Regions from separate parts of the Homo sapiens genome. Here region 1 is linked to region 2. Evidence: promoter capture Hi-C in 16 types of primary human blood cells and fetal thymus (Javierre and others, 2016). All regions are on one chromosome and are shown on one strand. The core of a region is centred on a gene start or on the middle of the fragment in contact, and the rest is flanking DNA. Distances in the headings are between cores, read along the strand shown. Region 1 has its middle 57 kb from the start of SSTR4. Region 2 holds the start of SSTR4 (somatostatin receptor 4).

Region 1 (4,133 bases), core at 301-2,800, 56 kb after region 2:
GAAGACCCAGAAATGAAAAATGTGATAGCCAAAAGCTTAGTTTGTTCTAGCTGCTGTAACAAAATGTCAGAAACCGGGTGGCTTTTAGAAAACAGAAATTTGTTTCTCACAGCTCTGGAGGCTGGGAAATCCAAGATCAAGGCATCAGCAGATTTGGTGCCTGGTGAGGACTCTCTGTCTGGTTCACAGGCAGCATCTTCTTGCTGTGTCCTTGGTTTTTTTGTTTGTTTGTTTGTTTGTTGTTTTTTGTAGACGGAGTCTCCCTCTGTTGCCCAGGCTGGAGTGCAGTGGTGCAATCTCGGCTCACTGCAACCTCCGCCTCCTGAGTTCAAATGATTCTCCTGCCTCAGCCTCCCGAGTAGCTGGGACTACAAGTGCATGCCACCATGCCTGGCCAATTTTTGTATTTTTAGTAGAGACAGGGTTTCACCGTGTTAACCAGGATGGTCTCGATCTCCTGACTTCTTGATCCGCCCACCTCAGCCTCCCAAACTGCTTGGATTACAGGCATGAGCCACTGTGCCTGGCCTCTCCCTTGGGTTTTTAAATTAAGGGCCCTAATATCATTCATGAAATCACCCTCCAAAGACTTTGCCTTGTAATATCATAATCTTAAAAGTGAGAATTTCGACACAGGAATTTGGGGTGAGGGACATATACATTATGACCATATCAATATTGTAGAGAAATATTAGAAGATTAAAGGACTCTTTTGGGAAGTAAAATAGACAAAAAAGAAGCAGAAAAATAGAGAAAAGAAACCTAGAGGCATCTTCTGTTCCAGAAGATGCAGCAACTGGCTCTTCAGAGTTCCAGGAAGGCTGAAAAGCATAAAGGAAAGGAACCTGTCAAATAAGCAGTGGAACAATTCTATACTCCTGAGGCATGTGTCTCCAAGTTAAAGAAGCCGTAAGAGTACCCCCCCAAAAGACAGGAGAAACATACATACCAAGGACACCTTCATGACATTTTGGGGTTCTAGAGAGAAAAAAAAAACGTCCTGAAGGTTGAGGGTGACACAGAGAGAGCAGAAAGGAGAGAAGATCCCATTAAAAAAAAAATCAGAAGGCAATGCTGGAAGGGAAGAAGTTAGTGCAGCAAAACCTTCAAATTCTAAAGTACAGCCTAGAATTCCACATCCAGTCAAATAATAAAGTAGAGGCAGAATCCAGATATCCAAAAATATCAGGTGTCTGCTTCCAGGAAGATAGAATAGATGGACTATCTATCTATCCATCCCTATCCATCCTGCTAAAAGTAACTAAAATTTGGGACATTGTGTGCAAAGCAAACATAAGCCTCTGAAAGGTGAAGAGAAAGAGGCAGATGGGCCAGGGACCCCAGGACCCAACGGATGACCTAGCGGTAAGTCCCAGGAATCTCTTTTTGATTCATATTCCAGAGTCAGAGCTAAAGAAGTGAGCCACCCAGAAATACCAACAGGCACAGGCAAGAAAGGCCCCCCAAAAGCCTGCTCTCTCTGGCCAAAGAACTAAGACTTGGCAAGACATAAAACCTTCAGGCACACTGCCAGTGAGAATGTAAATTGTATAACCTCTTTGGAGAACAGCGTGGAGATATGGCAAAGAACTAAAAATAGAATTACCCTTTGGAGTGGCAACGCCACTACTGTGTATCTACCCAGAGGAAAAGAAATCATTATATAAAAATGATACCTGCACTCATATGTTATCACGGCACTATTCGCAATAACAGTAATATGGAATCAGTTTAAGTGTTCATCAGCAGATGATTGGATAAAGACAATGTGATACATATACACAATGGAATACTACTCAGTCAAAAAAAATGAAGTCATGTCTTTTGAAGTAACATGGATGGAACTGGAGGCCGTTATCTTAAGTGAAATAACGCAGAAACAGAAAATCAAACACCACGTTTTCATTTATAAGTGGGAGCTAAATAGTGTATAAACTAGGACAAATTGTGAAATGATGGACATTGGAGACTCGGGAGGGTAGGGAATAGGAGACAGGTGGGTGATGAAAAATTACTTAATGGGTAGAGTACACATTATTTGGGTGATGGGTGCCCTAAAAGCCCAGACTTCACAACTATACAATATATTGATGTAACAAAATTATACTTATATCTCTTAAGTTTATACAAATTTAAAAAAGAAAGCCTGTTAGCAACATCTGCTTTACTCCATCTAAACACCACAGAAAATCGGCAGCCCCATCTCCACTCACCAAGGCCAGATGGGGAGCCTAGACTACCAGGCTAATGAGGAGTCCAGCCCCCACAATGAATGGGTCACCGTCAGAGAAGACTGAGTAGGGAGCCAAGACTTCCATCCCTGCCAGCCTGTGAAAGTCCCTCACTCCCATGTTACCAGGAAGACCGTGGAGGGAGCCTGGACTTTTTGTGGATGCTCATCAAGTTGGAAGAGTTTTCTTCTATTCCTATTTTTCTGAGAGTTTCATCATAATGGGTGTTGAATTTTGTCAAATGCTTCCCTTCCCCCTTGATATGACCATGTGATTTTTATTTAGTCCGTTAACATGGTGGATTATATTCATTTTTACATATTAAAGCAGCCTTGAACTCCTGGGGAAAAAAAATCTCACTTGATCATGGTATATAGTTATGTATTGCTGAATTCTATTTACTAATATTTTGTATGGATTATTGCATCCGTATTTTTTAGGGATAGTGGTCTTTGGGGTTTTTTAGTACTATCTGGTTTTGGTATCATAGTAATTCTATAATCACAAAATTAACTGGCATAGCATCCTTTCTGCCTTATTCTTTTGGTCAAGTCATCAGAGCCAGGATCAAGGGGAGAGCACATAGAGTGCAAAGAACTTTGGGGCCACATTTAAAGCCACCATAAAATTCAGTTAGGCATTCTGAATTATGACTCAAAAGGCATTATTTCAGGAACAATTTAATGGGGAATAATACTGTGCTTTCAGAACATCACAGGCTAAACTTTTGGGTGGGGGCAGAAGGAAGGGAACCATCTGCCTTTGTGGCTTGTCTGCATTGTTTCTATGGGAAATGTGTTCTGAATTCCTAAAACAATGTGCAAACAAGCTTTTTTAACTCAACCCTTTGTTTGCTGTATGATATTTCTTAATTCTGAAATGTAAAAAGCCAGTGGGGTAAGTCGTACAAGGTGACTGGCAGGACCTGCTGGAGCTGAAAAGGAATTGGGTAAGAAAATAGTGGCGATGGTTGCACAGCTTATTACAAGTGCCTGAAATTTGTTGGCCTGAAAGCCAAGGCTGATCTGTTACTGGATGATTGCCATTCTTAGACAAGTGATGGCAGATCCAAGGGTGTTGCTTCCTCTCATGTCCTCAGCGCTAGTGTCCTTGGGGACAGCAAGTGTTTTCCTGGCAAGCCACACTTTTCAGTTCTTTCATAGCTTTAGTCAACAGAAAAGCAGCCCTATGCTTTCCCACAAGCTAGTTGAGAGTTGTGGAACTCCACATTCCTGGATGTGCACAAATTCCTTGTGGTACCTCTTGCTTAGACTGGCGCCAGCCACTCTTGTTACAAGTTTACTTTACACTTAAACCCCTTCTCACAACATTTCCTGCCAGGTGGGGTGGTGAACCTAGCGGGGACTGTGATCTCTACAGTTTTAGGACCTCCTTTAAAGAATAGTCTGTCCATTAAAAGAACCGTCTAGATTTCTACTATGTGTCCCAAGTTTCTTAGTTTGCTTGTGTTGTCTCAATTTCCCCATTTGTAGAACTTCTTCTTCATGGACTTCCATCATAGAAGCTAACACCACAGGCAAGTTCCCTTCCCCACTGAGGGTGGGCTCACCCATGCTGGGGACTCCCTGCTCATCTGACCATTGATAGTTTGCCTCCTCTCATTGACTTCCGATTGTCTCTTAATTTGTTAAATATTTCCTTTGTTTCCTCTTGTTCCCCCAGAGGCTCAGTCGACTTTGTTCCTCTGCCTACCACCACCTCTGGGTTCTGGAACAGAATATCCAAGACCAAATTCTGTCATAGATGGCAGTACATGTGACAAGGCCATCCTCATGTCAGCATGTCAGGTGAGGGCAGGTTTGGGCACTCTGGCCTATGGGAAAACCCAGACGAAACCAATATGGATAGGGTATTGGTACAAGTAGCTCCCCACCCACCTGC
Region 2 (4,616 bases), core at 953-3,452:
GGCTGGTTCCCATCCCTCGCTGCTCTCTGGTCAGCTTTTCCCGCCCATGGCTCCTCTCTCACTCACCACCACAGTATAAATTGCTGCCTTAATGAGTTCTCATGTTCCCACATCAAAGGATCAGGGAAAAAAAATTACATCATAGGAGCTAGATGAAGTTTTTATCATCTGCTTTGTTATTACTGACCTGGTTTTATGCCTTGCAATAAACCCCATGTCATGTCTCTCCAAACCTTTTCTACTCACAGGAAGACTGCTCCCAGCTCAGGGCAACTCAGGGAGACACCTGTGACAGCAAGCAGATGTTATTCCCAGGCCGGGGGTGAGTGGGGAGGGAAGTAAGTGCCCCAGGCTGTTAACATAAGTCTCACTTAACAAGAGCTCAGGAAGAGACATAAAGGGCAGGTGCCTGGGGGCATCTTCCTTCCTCCTCTCTCCTGTACAAGCTGTGCTCCCACCACAAGGCAGAGCGTCTGCAGAGAGGAAGGGTGCTACCTCCCTCCACCTTCTTGAGTCCTCTCCCAAGCAGTGGCTGTAAGGAGTCACACACAGGGACCATTCATTTCTCACCACCTCCTGCTTCCCAGCCCTTGAAGAACAGCCAGAGGTTCAGGAATGATTAATATCCTAGCCCAGTTTCCAGAGGAGTCCTACCCATATGGAAGCATCCTTTTGAAAGCCAGAGTGCAGGGGAGAGGAGAGCAGCAGAAGAGTTCTGACACTCTCCGGCAGGTACATGGGCTGCTGGAAGGAACAGGTGGTGGAGCTTAGGTGAGCATTCAGGAGATGCAGTCTTCGGGGCTGTAGGAATGGTGCCCACCCCTTGGGAGGTGGCCACGCAGGGTGGGTAGGGGAAGGGCTCCTCAGAAGGTGGTGGTCCTGGTGAGGGGGATGCGCTTGCGGCCGGGTTCTGGTTGCAGGGCTTCCTGCTGGCAGGGGAGTGGGGGGCACATGCACCCTGCCCCACCTTTGCTCTTGAGAGCAGTGGCATAGTAGTCCAGGGGCTCCTCCTCAGCACCTCCAGCACCTTCCAGGAGGCAGCAGCGCAGGCAGAGAACCCGCTGGAAGAATCGGCGGAAGTTGTCGGAGAGGAAGCCATAGAGAATGGGGTTGGCGCAGCTGTTGGCATAGCTAAGGATAAGGGACACGTGGTTGACGGTGGCATCAAGGCTGGTCACGAAGAGGTTCAGCAGCTGCACCACGTAGAAAGGCATCCAGCAGAGCACAAAGACGACCACGACCATCAGCACCAGCCTGGTGATTTTCTTCTCCGAGCGCCTGCGCTGCTGCCAGCCAGCGCGCAGGGCCACGGCGCGCATCTTGCCCACGATGAGCAGGTAGCACAGGCCAATGGCCAGCACGGGCAGCAGGAAGCCCAGCAGGAAAGTGTAGACCACGAAGACTGCCGACCAGGCCGGGTGTGGCCACTGCAGGTTGCAGGCCACGGCCTGGCCGCCGCGAGCCGGTCTGGTGTCTGCGAAGATGGCGATGGGGAGAGTGACCAACAGGGATGCCAGCCACACGCCCAGGTTGATGAGCTTGGCCACGCTGGGCCGCCGGTAGGTCGCCGCGCGCAGAGGGTGCACCACGGCCACGTAGCGGTCCACGCTGAGCACGGTGAGACAGAAGACGCTGGTGAACATGTTGAGGCCGTCGACGCTGAGCACCGCGCGGCACAGCACGGAGCCGAAGGGCCAGTGGCGCAGGGCGGCCGACGAGGCCACGAAGGGCACGCTCAGCATGAAGAGCTCGTCGGCTACGGCCAGGTTGAGCAGGTAGATGTTGGTAGCCGTCTTCATCTTGGCGTAGCGAAGGATCACGAAGATGACCAGGGCGTTGCCCACCAGCCCCACCAGGCACACCAGCGCGTAGATGCACTGGATAGCGACCATGCCCGCCGCCCGCGCGTCCCCGGGCCCCGCCACCGCCTCCTCCGCCTCCGCCGGAGCGCTACTGGCATTGGCTGCAGAGGGCCAGGCCGTCCCCAGCCCTTCCTCGCCCCCGGGGGGCAGCGTCGAGGGGGCGCTCATGACCAGGGGTGCCGGCGCAGGGCAGCTGAGCGCGGCGGAGCTAGCGCTGCGCCAGAGAGCTCGGGCGGCGGGCCCAGGGCGGGGGCTGGCGCGCAGACGCGCGGCTCTTCCCGGCTACGCTGAAGAGCTGCGGGCACCGGGGAGCGCCCGCCAATCCCCGCGCCGCGCGCCCCACCGCGCGGGCGCCCGACTGGCTCGCACCGCTGTGGCCCGCGCCCCTCGGCACCCCAGCTCCTGGGGGTCAGCGCCTCACCCAGCCCTGGAGTCGTCTCCGGCCCCGCCCCGTTTTCCCACCTCGGTCGCCCCCTCCCCGCTGCCGACTCTGCCCCAGGTTCCCAGGTCTCCAGTCCGGCTCCAGTGTCAACAGCACCCCCAGCCCCGTCCGGCCCTCCCGGGGTCCCCCGCCTGGCTTCTTTCCTTCAGACCTCTATTCAGATCCCGTCTTCCCCAGCAGCCCTTTGAGGTCCAGTTCCCTGCTTTGCTACAGGGGGTCTGCGGCGGCGGGGCTGGGGGTCCCGGAGTCCTCCCTTTGGGTAAAGATGTGCCCGGAACTGGTCAGGGACCACCTGGAAGCTTGGACCACTTGCCTTGCACTTGACATCCCCTCACCCTGCCCTTTAATCCTCGCGACGACCCATCCTTGCACATGGCTGAGTCCCTTTTATAGAGGCGGAACCTGAGGCTTCCACTGGCGGCTTGGTGAATTTCAGGTCTGTCAGGATGTCCAGTTTTCCCCACAGCTCACCACTCCTTTCTCTGCTCCCCAACCCACTCTGGACAAGTGCAGATGCCGGACCTTTTAACTTCTGTGTCCGAGCAGCTGAGGTGCTATGGGCACAAGGAATGGAGACGGACAGGTGGAGGCAGAGATGCCACCAAAGAAGGCCAAGCCTGTGCTAGCTCCCTCGGGAACTGGCAGAAGCTACGGGAGCCGGACATCTCAGAACCTTCACCCTGTGACCTGGTTCAGTCATTATCCGCGGGTCTCCATCCCTGGCCACTAAAATGTGCCTGGGGAGGACTGTGGTCGAGAGGTCGGGAAAGAAAGGGGTTCCGGCCTGGAATTACCCTTCTTCTGCTAAACTCCAGAGATAGTGAGTTCACTGGCTCCTGGACTGGACACCCAGGAGCAGCCGCCGGCTCCAGCCCTAGTCCCTCTAGCTGGCACAGGGCACAGGAACGTTCCTGAACTGGGGATTGGCCTGGGAAAGTTATTCTTAAAGTAGCTCTGACTTTTAGGATCCTGGCTGTCTTTGGCCCCTTCTCTGTGGGATGGTGGCCCCCTTTAGCCCCCAGTACAGCCCAGAAAGGCCTTTAGTGGGTCTAAAATTGGCCACCTGGGGGGTGGGGTCTCAGCTTTCCGCTGGGTGGCTGGGACAGCGATGGGGAGGAGGGAGTCCTGTTGCAACTGGAGGAGGCCTTTCTAAGACTGGGGGGTGGGGGAAGCTGCCCACTGCTGTTTATCCAGGTGTGGGATGGGAGCACGGGCATGATCAGCACCAGTGCAGCCCCATAGTTGACCTCAACCACTGTCTCCAGTCTCTGCTACTCAAATAGATGTATTGGGAGGATTTGGTCTAGCACTCCTCCACTCTGTAGGTTGGTCTGTCCTTTCCTTTTTGTCCCTAAGAGAGAGACCTTTCACATCTTTGTCCTTAAGAGAGAGACCCTTCCCTGAGAAAGAGGAAGGAGATGGCACCTTTGTCATTCTACTTGGTGCCATCCTTTGGTGGAAGGGAACAAGAGCAACCTCAGATTTGGGAGGGAAGAGGAGTTTAGGGGCTTTTCCCTTTAACCCTGGTCTTGGGAAGACCCTTAGGTGGCTCCTCTGCAGATAGCCTTTCCAGGGCTTAGTGTGGAAGTGCTGGGGGCTATCTTGTCTTCCTGGTCTCCTCTCTTCTGCTGTCCTCTCTGCCCATTGAACACTCGGCCCCTTCCCTTTCCTGAGAAAGTATTTCTTCTTGTCCTGCCTCATGTGTGAGCCCCTGGAATCTTTCCTGTGCCTACTTTAGGTTTTTCTCCTAATGCTCCCCGATTCTGCCCTCCTCTCCCCATACACATGTGTATGCCTCCAAGCATAGTAAGCTAGCATGTAAGAAGAGAAGCATGCACGACTGTCCCCATTGGTTATTAGCCCTATGTGATAAACAGCTAGTGCTTCCAGGAACTTACTTCCCTGTGCTCTAGGCCCCCTCTGCAGCATGAGGGCCTCATCCTCAATACAGAGCTTTCCAATACAGGCTGTATGCTGGAATTACCTGAAGGCCTCACACAGGGATGCCTGGGCCCTGTCTTCAGAGACTCTGACTGAATTATCTGGAGTGGTGTCCAGGCATCCAAATATTTTGAAGGCTCCCGGGTACTTCTAAAGTGCACAGATGCAACATTAGATGGAGAGACAGAGAGGCAGCAGCCTGGGGACCAACTGCAATGTACAGATATTACTGTGCGTTCAGGAGGGCTAGCAGAAGAGGTCAGGAGAAATGTCAGGAAAGCCAAAAAGAGAGGCCCCTGCTTACAGGAGCAGGAAGCTGGAGACCGCTGAAGGGCAGCCTCGGGGCCCTGGGACAGGAAGAGGCTGGGGCA

What was found. The method cuts DNA at HindIII sites, captures the fragments that hold promoters and counts their contacts. A CHiCAGO score of 5 or more calls a contact.
Region 1: a contact is called between a fragment that was not itself captured here and the fragment with the promoter of SSTR4 in region 2, in 1 of 17 cell types (neutrophils). The highest score is 7.1, in neutrophils.

What each region holds. Positions count from the first base shown.
Region 1 is chr20:22,976,437-22,980,569 of GRCh38, reverse strand. No RefSeq gene overlaps it. Among named protein-coding and RNA genes, the nearest start is that of SSTR4, 57 kb to the left of the region's middle. The HindIII fragment of the contact is 3,025 bases long and covers 38-3,062 here.
Region 2 is chr20:23,032,898-23,037,513 of GRCh38, reverse strand. SSTR4 (somatostatin receptor 4) reads right to left here and starts at 2,202. Exons shown (of 1, transcript NM_001052.4): 1 at 1-2,202. The coding sequence starts at 2,030. The coding sequence ends at 864. RefSeq lists an enhancer at 1,115-1,661. The HindIII fragment of the contact is 5,481 bases long and covers 1-2,605 here.